4 separate regions of the Homo sapiens genome follow, and regions 1, 3 and 4 are each linked to region 2. The links are contacts of gene promoters, found by promoter capture Hi-C in human tissues and cell types (Jung and others, 2019). All regions are on one chromosome and are shown on one strand. The core of a region is centred on a gene start or on the middle of the fragment in contact, and the rest is flanking DNA. Distances in the headings are between cores, read along the strand shown.

Region 1 (3,647 bases), core at 72-2,571, 400 kb after region 2:
TATTTATTTGAGACGGAATATCGCTCTGTCACCCAGGCAGGGTGCAGTGGCACAATCTCGGCTCACTGCAGCCTCCACTTCTCAGGTTCAAGTGATTCTCCTGCCTCAGCCTCCCAAGTAGTTAGGATTACAGGTGCGTGCCACCACACCCTGCTAATTTTTGTTTGTTTGTTTTTATTGTTTTTTTTTTTTTTTTTTTTTTTTTTTTTTGACAGTCTTGCTCTGTCGCCCAGGCTGGAGTGCAGTGGCATGAACTCGGCTCACTGCAATCTCCGCCTCGCAGGTTCAAGCGATTCTCCTGCCTCAGCCTCCCGAGTAGCTGGGATTACAGGCGTGTACCACCACACCAGGCTAATTTTTGTATTTTTAGTAGAGACGGGGTTTCACCATGTTGGTCAGGCTGGTCTCGAACTCCTGATCTCGTGATCCACCTGCCTCAGCCTCCCAAAGTGCTGGGATTACAGGCGTGAGCCACTGTGCCCAGCCAAATTTTTGTATTTTTAGTAGAGATGGGGTTTCACCATGTTGGCCAGGCTAGTCTCAAACTCCTGACCTCAAGTGATCCCCCCGCCTCGGCCTCCCAAAGTGCTGGGATTACAGGCATGAACCACTGCTGCGCCTGGCCTGAAGATTTATTTTAGTATGGTTAACAGTAATGAGAGTGGAAAGTAAAAGAAAAATAATTTCTAGTTCTTTTTACACAGATAAGTCCACAAAATAGACTTTGTAAACAAAAATTAAAATTCAAGCTGCTTTAAAATATAATGAAATAGAACTAGCAAGAAACACTGAAGTAGCTATGTCACACCAAGGCTATATGGGTTATCTGAAAATAAGTAATCTGGCTAGGCACGGTGGCTCATGCCTATAATCCCAGCATTTTGGGAGGCCAGGGTGGGTGGATCACCTGAGGTCAGGAGATCGAGACCAGCCTGACCAACATGGAGAAATGTCGTCTCTACTAAAAATACAAAATTAGCCGGGCGTGGTGGCACATGCCTGTAATCCCAGCTACTTGGGAGGTTGAGGCAGGAGAATCGTTTGAACCCGGGAGGTGGAGGTTGCAGTGAGCCGAGATTGCGCCATTGCACTCCAGTCTAGGCAAGAAGAGCGAAACTCCATCTCAAAAATAAATAAATAAATAAATAAATAAATAAACAAAAAGTAATCCTCCTAAAGGAAAGCTACTAGAAAACACTTTAGCCAAATGACTTCAGATTTATAAGCAGGGCAACTGGCAACAGAATCCAAATGAATTCTAACGTTGTCAATCAGAAATACTTTAGCTTAAAAAAAATTAAAACACATAAATTCAGCATTTTGGTTCAATCTGAAAGTCTGATAATTTGAGGTTACTATAACCCATGAAATAAAATAATGTTAAGAAAATGACTCACATTGTAGGTGCTAAAATGAACATATGCCCAATACTGACAATGCTCTCTAAGTAAAAAGGTGAATTTTTTATTAATACTAACAGTCTTGATAATCTCAAGAGACAATCCAGCTTTACAAATCTAGAACCTGGTATACAAAGCAAAACGTACATTTTTTAAGTATCTGGGGAAAAAAGGAGGTATCTGGGCAATTCAGGTCAAGTAAACTTTGTGGGGAGGAGGGAAAGCAATATATATAAATTCAGGATTTTGTGCTTCAATTACCTATACCAGCTTTGCTGATGTGGTAAGAAAGCACACATGCAGATACGGTTAGATATTTTTCCTAATTTTTTTCCACTTTCTTATTTCCTACATAGCTAAAGAATGCTTAATAGAATATAATTAAAAGGGTATATACCATCTTGCTTAATCAGGTGGGTTAGATCAACTTTCAAACAGGGGAAGAATTTGACTTGAGCCAGCAGCTGGAGTAGGCTCAGAACTGAATTTAATCAACCAAAAACCTAATGACCCATAATCAATGACATGGAATTACCACTAATAATTTTAGTGACAAGCTCATCACATTTACTCATGAATCACCTACAGTATTCCAAGCTCCCAAACTTCACAAAAAGTGAATTTCAGGTATCTGATCTTAAACACAGAAAGACCTATACACCCTTAAAAACCTACATGACCATAAAATGTAGGCCTTATGACTACAAGCATGGAGTATAAAATTTTGACACTAAGAAGTTCCAGGGAGGCAGGCCGGGCGCGGTGGCTCACGCCTGTAATCCCAACACTTTGGGAGGCCACGGTGGGAGGATCATGAGGTCAGGAGTTTGAGACCAGCCTGGCCAACATGGTGAAACCCCGTCTCTGCTAAAAAATACAAAAAATTAACCGGGCATGGTGGCGCGCACCTATAATCCCAGCTACTCGGGAGGCTGAGGCAGGAGAATCGCTTGAACCCAGGAGGCAGAGGTTGCAGTGAGTAGAGATCGCGCCACTGCACTCCACTTGGGCAACAAGAGTGAAACTCCGTCTCAAAAAAAAAAAAAAAATTCCAGGGAGAAAAAGACTACTTGCATTCAATGCCAACAGACAGTCTCCATAATATCACTACTATGAAAATGTATCGATACAAAACTACCACCACATTGTGGACTTAAAAGAAATTTGGATTTTAACAAGTTAAACTTAAGCTGAACTCACATCATTTATCATCAGGCAACCAGTATTCTCTAATATCAGGTATCACATTATAGTATAATTACTGAATAAAAGACAAGGAAGAATCCTGAAGATGAAATTTAAAAGTGAATTTCTGGATCTGTAAGAAAGGTGAATTTCCCAGTAAATGCAGGAGACTCCATGAGCAGTGCAAATTAGTCTGTTACACACCATTTTAAAACATATAATCCATACAGGAATTCCAACTGGTTAACAAATTCCATAAAGAAATGAAAGTTGTCTCTATGAAGAGGGCACAATGAAGCACCAGAAATATGATAACCATAAGCTTTATTTAACTATAATTTTCTATATTAACAAGCTCCTTTCCTATTTATCTAAATCAAATGGCTTTTATTCCACACCAATAACCTGCAAATATGACTGCCTTGGACTCACAACTCACCCCTAAGGAATCTGCCTTATGTTTGGAATCTTATTTTCACTGCATTAAAGCAGTACAGAAAAAACATTACCATATATATGACAAGGAATAAGAAGATTCACAAACGTAAGGATAGCATAAACTCATTGTTCAGGAATGTGATTGGTTACCCCATCTAACAGTCTGGTGAAAAGTGCCCAGGGAAATGAACACACAACACAGAAATACAGTCAGAAAATGAAGAGGTAGCCAATGTCCCGTTCCCACCCCCACAAAACTCCAGGATTTCTTGATAGAATGAATGTCTGCATTACTATTTTTTTTTTAAGATTTCTCTGTATTAAGGATTCCATAAACTCGTTATTCAGCTCATTCCAATGCCTGGCCCAACTGGATATACTACTAACTTAAGCCTAGGTGCAAATCAGTGTTTTGTTTTTGTTTTTGTTTTTGTTTTTGGAGACAGGGTCTGGCTCTGTCGTCCAGGTTGGAGCACACTGGCGCAAATCTCGGCTCACTGCAACTTCTGCCTCTCGGGCTCCAGTGATTCTCGTGCCTCAGCCTCCCGATCCGCTGGGACTACAGGGGCGCGCCACCATGCCCGGCTAATTTTTATTTTTTGTATTTTTGGTAGAGAAAAGGTT
Region 2 (3,803 bases), core at 965-3,464:
TGCATCTCTGGAATAAATGCCGTTTGAACTTAATTGCCCTACTGAAAAACACTGCTTTTCAGTATACAACTTATTCTGCACTAATAGAAAAGGTTAACAGCTCCTTGCCAAAAAGCCAAGATTCATCTGCAACAACCCAGACTACAAGGCAATATAAAACTTTTTTTCAATAGTCTTTTGCACTAATTTTTTTGGCATAATTAAAAGTTGTACACATTTTTCAACTGTTTTACCATCTAAGTTACCAAAACACAAAATGGCCAATGTAATTATCCGCCTACCAAAGTCCTGATTTTCAGTACTTCAAAATAAAACTCATTTCAAAATGTCAATAAAAACAGCACTACCCATTTAAAAGAGACAGAAATAGTCCTTTTCCTAGTTAGTCTATGTAAATCTAAGAAACATTTGTCATCAGCTATCAAAAACAATGGCAGGACTTAAGGCACAATGTCCCAAAACCAAAACTGACTATGAATTTTATTAAAGGTAAGTGATAAAGTCTCTTTTCCCACATAAAGAAAAAAGTAAAATTTGAAGTTCACATTTCAGATTCTTAAATTACGCTCACAAGCTAAAAAAAAAAAAAAAAAAAAAAAAAAATCACGGGGTGTGTATTCACATTTCACATGAAGACAAAATATAGTTGAGGTTGTTCACTTTCAGCTTCTTGAATATATCGTCTTAGGATACCGATTTTCTCCATAGAAACTTGATTCTAAAAATCCCTTTAAAATGTTTTTTAAATTAACTTCCAACGTTCCTGCTATGCAGACTGAATTCTTCATCTGATTATTTTAGGAAAAGACTAGCCTCATTCATAAGCTACGTCTAAACCTAAAAGGGGAAATACGTTTCTAACCAGAACTTTAAAAAAAAAAAAAAAAAAGAGTAAAAAATTGATGAAAGAACGCTGCTGCCACGTCTTTGCCCCTCCCCCCTTCACGTAGTGGCTATTTCATCCCCTCCGAGTGCATTCCAAGCGAAAGTCCGAGAACCACTGCTCTCGGAGAAACCAGAAACAGTTAAGTGGAAATTGGCAAGTCTCTTTGGCCTTTTAGATCAATTCCTAAAAGAGGATCTAGCTGCTTCTTCAACCCTTTCTTAAAGAAAACAGTGCAAAATTCCAAGAGTCTTCACTCTATCCGGAACGCGTAAGATGTTAGTGTCTAAACATTGAATTTGTATGTAACAGAGTCGATTATTTAGGAGAAAGAGTCTCACAGTTATCATACCATCCTTCCTCCCCATTGAAACATACATCCGGGGGCCAGCCATGTAATCCAACTCAAAATCCTCACACAACCATGGAATTTGTTGGACTGATGTGGACTTTTAAAAGCTGCAAATTCTCGGCAGAGAGAGACAGAGAGACAGAGATTGAGAGAAGAGCTCTTGTCTCTTTTTAAAAAAAGTTATGGGGAAGAAGAGGGAAGGAAGCTTCCCTGACGACGAGGTGACCTGAGAGCCTACTTCCTCGGCGCTACGAGCAGAAAGCTCGGCGCCCCGGGCTACGTCTGGCAGCTAATGCTGCACCGCTGCGCGCAACAGATGAGTTCAGCCGGAACTTTCTGGGGAGGTCCCCCCAGCTCCCGGCGACTTTCGATAGGGCAAAAATGCCTGGCGCGCTGCGGATCCAGCTCCAAGCCTTAAAATCCGCTCTCCACCGCCACATGCGAACCATCTGCGGCTGTGGCGGCCAAAAGCCCACGCCCCGCGCTTGCGTTCCCCTTAGCCTCGTTAGGGAGGACCAGGTGCAGGGGAACTTGGAAAAAAAAAAAAGCAACAGAGTGATTCCTCCCCGGGAAGGAAAATTCAAGAAAGTCCTGGTCCCTAGGGCGGGGACTGAGGCTGCAGCAGCCCCAGCGGTCCGAGGCGCACTAGGGACAGAGGTGGGAAGGGGGGCACGAAGGAGCGCGGGCGCCGGGAGTCGCGTGGCGCAGGGAGAGGGGCCGAGTCTCCCGAGGGGAAGGAACCGAGGCTGCTGTGGTAACCTGGGGAACCCCCGCCCCAGAAGTACCACCACAGCGGGAAGGAATGGATCGCCGCAGCCGTCCGAGAAGGTCCACGGCTGCCCAGTGGCCTCAGTCTCCGGGATCGAGGGAGCGTCTCACCTGGAAAGTGGGACGAGAGGGCGGCGCGCTCTTCAGCCCCCAGTCGCCTCCACTCGGAGCGGCTACTTCCTACCCTCAGCCCGCTGGCGGCGCGACTGGGCAGCAGAGGGAGCCCGTTAGCCCTTTTATAACCTCTAGGCCGCGATGGCAGCGCCAGGGAGGAGGCGACTGCAGCCCTCGCTACGTGAGCTCGATCACACCAGCGCCCCGGCGACTGCGCAGGCGCCAAGCCCGTGCCTCCCTGCTGCCCCCACCCGTGGCCGGCCCGTGGAGTCTGAGGCCGAGAGGAGTGGCTGGGACCGGCCGCCGTGGTGTGGGTAAGCGGGAGTGGGATGTAACGCGCCTGCGCAGGGTTCTCGCCCCGCCACCGTTACCGTGGTTACCACGGGGTTTCCCCCGCTCCTGTTCAGTTTGCCTCCTTGATTTCAGGGTCCGCGTCAGGCCTAAGCGACGAGGCCGCCGGCAATAAAGTATCTTAAAAATGAGAAGAGGAACGTGGGAGTGTAGAAAATAAAGCAGAATTTTTCTAGGGTGGAAAATAATAGAGATTCAGTCTTGGTATCTCAGCTGTCTTGTTCCTCTCACATCTCAGCACTCATTTTATACTAATCGTGCTCTATCTCCTACCTTTATACCTTATCAGTAGATAATAGACTAAGAGCTCCAGGGTCAGGTTATCTCAATTCAAATCCTGCCTCAATCCTGTGTGTAACACTAGGCATTAACAACCTCTCCGTATCCGTTTACTCATCTGTAAAATAGAAATGACGGTACTACCCATCTTGTAAGATTCTTGTGAGAATAAAATGAGATAATGTATGTAAAGCACTTAACACATGCCTCACACACAGAAATGACTTAGTAAATATTAGATTCTCCAGTAACATTAATTTATATAAGGCACCCAATGTTGCGTTTGATCTTAGTCTAACATTTGCCTTAGTTATAAAGTAACCCCAAACCAAGGGTTTCTTTATATCTCCCTGTACTATGAGGGAGAATACAATGAAGAAGATAATTTTTTCCTTGTCAGTTAAAGAGAAAAATGAGTTGCTAAGACTTGTTATTCATTAAGAATTGTGGTTTCTAAAGTTTTCCATGTATGCTAAAAAGTATAGCAATAATTAACATTTGACTTACGCAGGAGGTGAGTGATTATATAGCTACAGAAAGAGAGAGAGGGTACTCTGGGAGCACTAGGCAACTAAAAAGTAGATATAATGATGTCTAAATCAATGGTTCTGAAAGCGTAGTCAGGGAATCCATAAGGTCAAAATTATTTTCATACTAAGACTTTATTTTCATACTAAGACTTACTGCCTTTTTCACTCTAATAACAATACAGTGAGGTCTTCCAGAGACTACATGCCTGTGATACAGATGGAACGCAGACACAGATATGAGAATCTTCTATTAGCCCAGACACTGAAGAGATTTGCAGAAATGTAAAATAATGCCACTCTTCTCACTAAATTATTTTGCTTTGGAAAATAGTTATTTTTCATTAAAAATATGTTATTAGGCCAAATGAAGTGGCTCACACCTGTAATCCCAGCACTTTGGGAGGCCGAGGCGGGAAGATCACCTGAGCCCAGGAGTTCGAAATCAGCCTGGGCAACATGGCCAGACCCTCTCTCAAAAAAAAAGTTATTTATGTTATGTTAACATGTAACAGGTTTATTATTGTTG
Region 3 (4,211 bases), core at 1,107-3,606, 370 kb before region 2:
GGTACATGACTTCTTATGAACTAGATGCCACCTTTTCCCCTTAACCTCAGCTGTTTCTTTTTCTTTTCTGTTTTATTAAGGAACTTTAACCTCCCGCTTGACTTAGTCTAGGCATAGCTAATATTACAGTGAGGTAACAAGATTGAGTTGTAGTTATTGGCACTTTTTTCTTTCTTTCTTTTTTTTTTTTTAACATGCAACTATTTTTACAAGCAAAATTCTAGTGTAACCAGAGTTGAAAACATGATAGCTATAGTTACTTTTTAAAAATTAATTTTTCAGGGGTAACTTTGACAACCCATTTTTGGGGGGAGTTTGATTTATAAGTCAAAGAAGAGAGTAGCTTGCACTGAAAGTTGCTACTTCTTCCTGTTAGATGATTAAGAAATAGAGACAAAATCTGTTTCTTTTTTATGAGGCCTTTTGTTACTTTCTTGGGTGACATTTTAAATAAAATTTGCATTATTTCTTTTCTCAAGACTACTGGACATGGGAGAAAAAGTCCCTTTTCCTTATCAAAGCTTAATTTCCTTTATTCTATTACTGTTATCTTCAGAAAATGTTTATTTTTGGCTGGGTGTGGTGGCTCACGCCTGTAATCCCAGCACTTTGGGAGGCTGAGGCAGGTGGATCATGAGGTCAGGAGATCAAGACCATCCTGGCTAACATGGTGAAACCCCATCTCTACTAAAGATACAAAAAATTAGCTGGGTGTGGTGGCAGGTGCCTGTAGTCCCAGCAACTTGGGAGGCTGAGGCAGGAGAATGGCATGAACCCAGGAGGCGGAGCTTGCAGTGAGCCGAGATTGGGCCACTGCACTCCAGCCTGGGCGACAGAGCGAGATTCTGTCTTAAAAAAAAGAAAAAAAGAAAATGTTTATTATCTAGTCTTTTTTTTGCAGCTAAGTTTTTAAAAATTAGCAAATTTGTCAGAACGAAGATTAAATTAATAAACTTAGTTTTCTGTTCTATATATGATGCTATGATTCTTATTTTTTCTAACATATTCAGAATCATTCATTTTTAAAAAATTTCTTTCTATGATAAAAGTACTAAATCTTTTATCATAGAAATTGAGATGTACAGAAAAATGGAAGAAAGAAAAAGTGCTACTCAGAGACAACCATTGTTAACATTTTTATGTATTTCCTTTTAGACATTTTTTAATGGAATTCATCTTGCTTTGATAAAAGAATAGGTCATCTTTATATACAACATAAAACCATATAACTTACCATCGAAGATGACTCAAAGAAGAAAAAAACCCATGTAACTATATTTTGCTTTTTTTGCTCAGCATTATACCAAATATTTAACAAACTTGTCATACACATTTAATGGCAGCATAATATTCCAGAGTGGCTGTATCAGTATTTGTGCTTGCAACGTGCTTTTCAAAATATATATATTTTTTGGTAGCACATTTGAGGATTTTAAAGGTAAACATTCTTTCCTCGTTTTCACCTGATGACTTTTGTAGTTTGTTGCTCTGCAGATAGAATAGGTTACCGCCCTCACCATGTTCTTTTACACTCACAAGTAACAGCCACAAATTTTAATAATGTTATTCAGAACATCTTTAAAAGTCCATCTGTTTCAGATGGTATCTTCGAGAACGTTTAACACAAACTGTCAGATTCTTCTAAGGTCATTGGAAAGCCCATCCTTTTGTCTCTAGATTTGCTCATCAAGAATATTAAGAAATAGCTTGTGATTCTTTAATATAGTTATGTAGATATACTATATTTTTAAAAAATCAATTCCCTATTACACATGTATGTTGTTTCCAGTCTTTTGCAGTTATTTGCATTGCTATGGTGAATAACCTTGTGCATTCATCATTGCTTGTGTATGAGTTTATAGAATGTATTCCTTGAAGTAGAAGGTATCAGAATTACTCTCTGCTTACATCTTTGCCAATACAATGTGGTACTAAACTTTCTGACTGGTGAAAAAATGGTATCTCAATGAAGCTTTAATATGTTTTTCTCGTATAAGTGAAGTGAGATTCTTTTAAAAGTACTGTCTTTCCCTTTGCTGTGAACTAAAACTCATGTTCCTTAACTCTCATAGAGATGTTGGTCTTTTTCTTTGTAATTTGTGGGAGTTCTTTGTATATTAGGGAAACTAATCCTTTGTGATTTTAACTGCATTTCTACCACCACCCCCTCCCCCACAAGTTTGTCACTTTTTAACATTTTAAGTCCTTTAAGTCTGAATCTGGACATTCAACTCTTAGGCACATTTAAAGGGCTGTATTATATATGAAAGTAGGGAACTACCTGTAAATGTTGCCAAGTAAATACAGTATTAGTCCTGAACATATTTGAAGACAGCTATGTGGATGAAGGTTAGATTAGATTTATTCCTTCTCTTTATGGAGAAGCAAATTGCAGCTCAGCATATGGAAGAATTTTCTCTTATTAGATCAGCTTCAAAATGGAATGGAAATCCTTTGGAATAGATGGATTCTTCGTTACTAGATTTGTTATTGGGAAGGAGATGCCAGCCTTTTCCCCAGTTCATTGCACAAAATAAGCACTTAGTGTTGAATAAACGAATCTTTGGGGCATCTGGATGGTTGGATTAGCTGGTTTTTAATAACTTTCACACTGTGTTTATTTTTTATTTTTTTGAAACAAGGTCTCATGTTGTCATCCAGGCTATAGTGCAGTGGCACAAGCATGGCTTACTCTCCTGAGCCTCGACTTCCTGGGTTCAGGGGATCCTCCCACCTCAGCCTCTTCAAGTAGCTGGGTCTACATACACACGCCACCACACCTGGCTAATTTTTTTTTTTTGAGACGGAGTCTCGCTCTGTCACCCAGGCTGGAGTGCAGTGGTGTGATCTCGGCTCACTGTAAGCTCCACCTCCCGGGTTCCCGCCATTCTCCTGCCTCAGCCTCCCGAGAAGCTGGGACTGCAGGTGCCTGCTACCACACCTGGCTAATTTTTTGTATTTTTTAGTAGAGACGGGGTTTCACCGCGTTAGCCAGGATAGCCTCGATCTCCTGACCTTGTGATCCGCTTGCCTCAGCATCCCAAAGTGCTGAGATTACAGGCATGAGCCACTGCGCCTGGCCCACACCTGGCTAATTTAAAAATGTTTTTTATGGAGATGGAGTCCCACTATGTTGCCTAAGCTGGTCTCTAACTCCTGCCTTCAAATGATCCTCCCACCTGGGGCCTCCCAAAGTGTTGGGATTACAGGTATGAGCCATTGTGCCTGGCTCATACTATTTTCATTTAAAAAATATTAATGTAGGCCGGGTGCGGTGGCTCACGCCTATAATCCCAACACTTTGGGAGGCTGAGGTCGGTGGATCACCTAAGGTCAGTTCGAGACCAGCTGACCAACATGGTGAAACCCCATCTCTACTAAAATACAAAAATTAGCTGGGCATGGTGGTGGGCACCTGTAATCTCAGCTACTTGGGAGATTGAGGCAGAAGAATTGCTTGAACCCAGGAGGTGGAGGTTGCAATGAGCCAAGATTGCACCATTGCACTCCAGCCTAGGCAACAAGAGCGAAACTGTCTGAAAAAAAAGAAAAAAAATTAATCTATGTGTTTATACATACTGCCTTTCATATAACTAAAATCATATTTATTTCCTCCTTTCTTGCCTGATTCTCTCTCCTTCCCATTTTGCTCCAAGATAACCATGTCGTATATATATCCTTCCATATTTTTCTTCATACTTGAATGATTATCCTATCTGTTTTTATTTATTTATATATTTTAAGATAGGATCCTGCTGTATTGCCAGGCTGGTCTTGAACTCCTGGGCTCAAAGGATCCTCCCACCTCAGCCTCTGGAGTAGATAGAATCGTAGGCATTGGCCGTGGCACCTGGCTCCACCCTATTTGTTTTTTGTCTATCAGCACACACATACTTCAGGCACACACACACACGTGTGTGTGTGTGTGTGTGTGTGTGTGTGTAGTTCGTTCTGTAAAATTGGATCATATTTGCATTCTTTCCTGTATTTTGTTTTTCTCACATAGTAATAAATAGTAGAGCTCCCTCTAAGTCAACTGATACAGCTCTGTCATTAATTCAATGGCCGTATAATATGCCATCATATATGGGATTATTCCTTGATGCAGCTGTACTTTTGTTTATTCAGCTGATATTTTACTGGTGGACATTCACTTTGTTTCCTGTTTTTTTTTGTCACTGTGAACATTGTAATAAGCATCTTGTACATAT
Region 4 (4,150 bases), core at 27-2,526, 430 kb before region 2:
TGGCTAATTATTTGTACTTTAGTAGAGACAGGGTTTCACCATGTTGGCCAAGATGGTCTGATCCACCTGCCTCGGCCTCCCAAAGTGCTGGGATTACAGGCATGTGCCACTGTACCTGGCCGTTCTTAACAGTTTTTTTAAAAAAGCATAAAAATACGTTAGCTAAAACTTGCTTTAGATTCTCCTTCCAAAGCTTTTTGAATTCAGTGTTAGGTGTTTGCTATGTCAAGAATAAACACTAACAAGAAACAAAATGAGTATCTTGTTCTGATCCATGTACCTTAACCTACTGGCTTGTAAAAAGAAATTTGTTCTTTGCTGAGTCAACTGTAAAAAGAATTTTTGCCTGAAATTAAATATGCAGGCCAGGCGCGTGGCTCACGCCTGTAATCCCAGCACTTTGGGAGGCTGAGGTGGGCAGATCACGAGGTCAGGAGATCGAGACCATCCTGGCTAACATGGTGAAATCCCGTCCCTACTAAAAATACAAAAAATTAGCCGGGCATGGTGGCGGGCGCCTGTAGTCCCAGCTACTCGGGAGGCTGAGGCAGGAGAATGGCGTGAACCCGGGAGGCGGAGCTGGCAGTGGGCCGAGATAGCGCCACTGCAGTCCAGCCTGGGCGAAAGAGTGAGACTCCGTCTCAAAAAAAAAAAAAAAAAAAAGAAATTAAATATGCAACCCAAGATTGGTTTGCCTAGTGTCACTGTAAGGGCAGGTTAAGTAACAAAGTTTAAAGCTCAAGGATGCTGCTGAACACCTTGGAGTGTGTCTAGATAATGCAATTTTCCATTAATATCAAGGCATAAAAGCCAGTACTCCTCTCACTTGCCTGTAAATCTCATGACTTAGCTTAGTTTCTTTCAAGAATAGGATCTTATTATGGTGTTCACAGACAAGTGAAAAAATAATTACATAAAAGCCAAAGTGCATTTTCTTTCATCTCAACCACTGCAATAAAATTTCCAGCAAGAGGACAATTCCAGACTCATTTTTCAGAGTTGTTGCTGATGTCTGAACATGTATGATCCATGAGAGTAGGGATATTTTGCTTGTTTGCTTTTTGTTTACTTCCCATCCCAGTAGTGTATAGGCTACTGGGCACATAATAGATAATCGATGAATATTTATTGAATGAATAAGTATTGGGTTTTGATATTGAATAGTGCCTTCCACTTCCCAAACACTGAAAAACCCAGTGTGAAATTCCTTTTAAAATTTATTATTAATATGAGTCTAGAATAAATATTGTAATATATATCTATTATTTCAGTCTTTTCAGCAACCCTTCCTCTTTCCTTCAAGATGACAAAACTAGTCTGTCCTACTGGGAATGAACTCAGTGTGGACTCACTCCCTCTCCTCCCTGGCTATAGGAGATATCTTGTGACCAAGACTTATCCCATCAGAAAATTACATTCCTTAGCTACCCCCACTCACTTCCCACCACATTGTTGGTTCCTGATGCAAGTCAAGCTGCCCTGTGACTTTTCTGCTACAGCTAATAAAGAAGATCATCTCTATCTGCTGGAGTTAATTGTGGGTATACTTTGGAGTCTGGAGCTGGGGGCAGCCATCTTTCCCACCTTAGGGTTAGAACCTGTATGTAGTAGCAAGCCAATCAGAAGCAAGAAGAATTGAAAGGTAGAGAGGGAAGGAGGGAGAGAAAGAGAGAGAGAGACTGTTTTCTCATCACCAAACAACTCATATTTATTCCTTTTTAAAAGTAGGAATATATTTTTTGTTTTGTCTATGAAAATAAAAAATGCTAATTGTTAAAATATCAAAATTTTTTAAAATGAAGAAAATTAAAGTTATTTTGAGTTCAACACCAAGACACTATCTTTCTTTTCTTATTTTATTTTATATTTTTATTTTATTATTATTTTTTGAGACGGAGTCTCGCTCTATCACCCAGGCTGGAGTGCAGTGGCACGATCTCGGCTCACCGCAACCTCCACCTCCCTTGTTCAAGCCATTCTCCTCCCTCAGCCACCCGAACAGCTGGGATTACAGGCACACGCCACCATACCTGGCTCATTTTTGTGTTTTGAGTAGAGATGGGGTTTCACCATGTTAGCCAGGCTATTCTTGAGCTCCTGACCTTGTGATCCACCTGCCTCGGCCTCCCAAAGTGCTGGGATTATAGACGTAAGCCACTGCACCTGGCCTTTTTTTTTCTTATGTTCAACAAAACATGTTTTTATAACCTCCTTTTATCAGTTTATGTATCATAAATATCTTTTCACATTAATGAAGATAGATTTATGTCTTTTTTTTTTTTTTTTTTTTTTTTTTGAGACGGAGTCTTGTTCTGTCGCCCAGGCTAGAGTGCAGTGGTGCAATCTGAGCTTACTGCAACCTCCGCCTCCTGGGTTCAAGTGATTCCCTGGCCTCAGCCTCCCAAGTAGCTGAGATTACATGTGAGTGCCACCACGCCCAGCTAATTTTTGTATTTTTTGTAGGGAGACGGGGTTTCACCATATTGGCCAGGCTGGTCTCAAACTCCTGACCTCAGGTGATCCACCCGCCTTGGCCTCCCAAAGTGCTGGGATTACAGGTATGAGCCACCACACCCACCCTATGTCATTATTTTAAAAAACGATATAGTATTCTAGAAAAAATATAAAACAAAAACTATATAGTATTCCATTGGGTATATTCACTATAGATTACTTAACCATCCCTGTTGTTGCAGATAGCTCTTAAAAGCTCTTAAATGTTTTCTGAAAAACAATAAATCTTTCTCCTGAGAATCCCCTCATTCTAAATTTTCCTTGCATAATTTGAACATTTGAAGGTTACTGGTTGGGTAGGAGAGGAGGAGGAAGACTTTTGTGAGCTGGTGAAAACATAGAAAATAGTACTTTTGTAACTATGAGGACTTTCTTACTAAATATTAAGTGTATTAATCTCATATAGATGAAGAGTAGACATCGTGATTGGTAAATTTCTTGGCTATTTTTTCAGATTTTTTTTTTTTGAGACAGAGTGTCACTGTGTCACGCAGGCTACAGTACAGTGGCACAATCTCGGCTCACTGCAACCTCCGCCTCCCAGGTTCAAGCCATTCTTCTGCCTCTGCCTCCAGAGTAGCTGGGACTACAGGTGTGTGCCACCATGCCTGGCTAATTTTTTGTATTTTTAGTAGAGATGGGGTTTCACCATGTTGGCCAGGCTAGTCTCGAACTCCTAACCTCATGATCCGCCCGCCTTGGCCTCCTAAAGTGATTTATTTTAAAAAGTGTTTATATATATGCCTGTGGCACAATATTTTGATGCTGACTGTACTACTCTCTGAATGACTAATAAATCTCTAATTAGGAGGGTGGGGTTGATCAGTCACAGGAGTAAACCCAGTTCCACTGGAGGTATTATTTATGCTTTATTAAGATAACAAAGCAAGGCTCAGCAACAGGAAATGAAGTAATAACAGACATCTAGAAATTGTATAAATTGCTGGGTGTGGTGGCTCACACCTTTAATTCCAGCACTTTGGGAGGTCGAGGGGGGCAGATCATTTGAGGTCAGGAATTTAGACCAGCCTGGCCAACATGGTGAAACCCTATCTGTACTAAAAATACAGAAACTAGCTGGGCATGGTGGTGGGCATCTGTAATTCCAGCTACTTAGGAGGCTGAGGCATGAGAATAGCTTGAACCCGGAAGGTGGAGGTTATAGTGAGCCCAGATCACACCACTGCACTCCAGCCTGGGTGACACAGTGAGACCCTGTCTCAAAAAAAAAAAAAAAAAAAAAAGAAAATGTATAAATATTTAGTTTAAAGAAAAATAATCAAAAGCAGAAGATAGACATTTTATCTGTAAGAGGGAGGTTGTCCATTTTCTGTTGCTTATAACAGAATACCTGAAATTGGGTATTTTATAAAGTAAAGGAATTTACTTCTTGTAGTTATAGAGGCTGAGAAGTCCAAAGTCAAGGGGTTACATCTGGTGAGAGCCTTCCTGCTGGTGGGGACTCTCTAACAGAGTCCATAGGCAGTGCAAGCATAAATTGGCAAGGGCTTGAGAATGCTAGCTCAGGTTTCCTCTCCTCTTCTTCAAAGCTACCAGTTGCATCCCCCGATAACCCATTAATCCATTAACTCATTAGTTTATCAATATGTGAATGTATTAATCCATTCATGAGAGC

What was found. The method cuts DNA at HindIII sites, captures the fragments that hold promoters and counts their contacts. A contact is called where the count stands out against the background at its distance.
Region 1: a fragment that was not itself captured here is called in contact with the fragment with the promoter of P4HA1 in region 2 in 1 of the 25 tissues and cell types used here (psoas muscle).
Region 3: a fragment that was not itself captured here is called in contact with the fragment with the promoter of P4HA1 in region 2 in 2 of the 25 tissues and cell types used here (mesendoderm cells and thymus).
Region 4: a contact is called between a fragment that was not itself captured here and the fragment with the promoter of P4HA1 in region 2, in 1 of the 25 tissues and cell types used here (dorsolateral prefrontal cortex).

The regions. Positions count from the first base shown.
Region 1 is chr10:73,490,843-73,494,489 of GRCh38, forward strand. The region is part of intron 1 of PPP3CB (protein phosphatase 3 catalytic subunit beta); the gene reads right to left. Among named protein-coding and RNA genes, the nearest start is that of PPP3CB-AS1, 3.1 kb to the right of the region's middle. The HindIII fragment of the contact is 4,358 bases long and covers 1-3,500 here.
Region 2 is chr10:73,094,652-73,098,454 of GRCh38, forward strand. P4HA1 (prolyl 4-hydroxylase subunit alpha 1) reads right to left here and starts at 2,215. Exons shown (of 15, transcript NM_001017962.3): 1 at 2,115-2,215. RefSeq lists enhancers at 1,596-2,351, 2,596-2,665 and a silencer at 2,236-2,565. The HindIII fragment of the contact is 7,006 bases long and covers 709-3,803 here.
Region 3 is chr10:72,722,344-72,726,554 of GRCh38, forward strand. The region is part of intron 1 of MCU (mitochondrial calcium uniporter); the gene reads left to right. Among named protein-coding and RNA genes, the nearest start is that of MIR4676, 3.4 kb to the left of the region's middle. The HindIII fragment of the contact is 5,564 bases long and covers 1-4,211 here.
Region 4 is chr10:72,662,762-72,666,911 of GRCh38, forward strand. No RefSeq gene overlaps it. Among named protein-coding and RNA genes, the nearest start is that of MCU, 27 kb to the right of the region's middle. The HindIII fragment of the contact is 7,462 bases long and covers 1-4,150 here.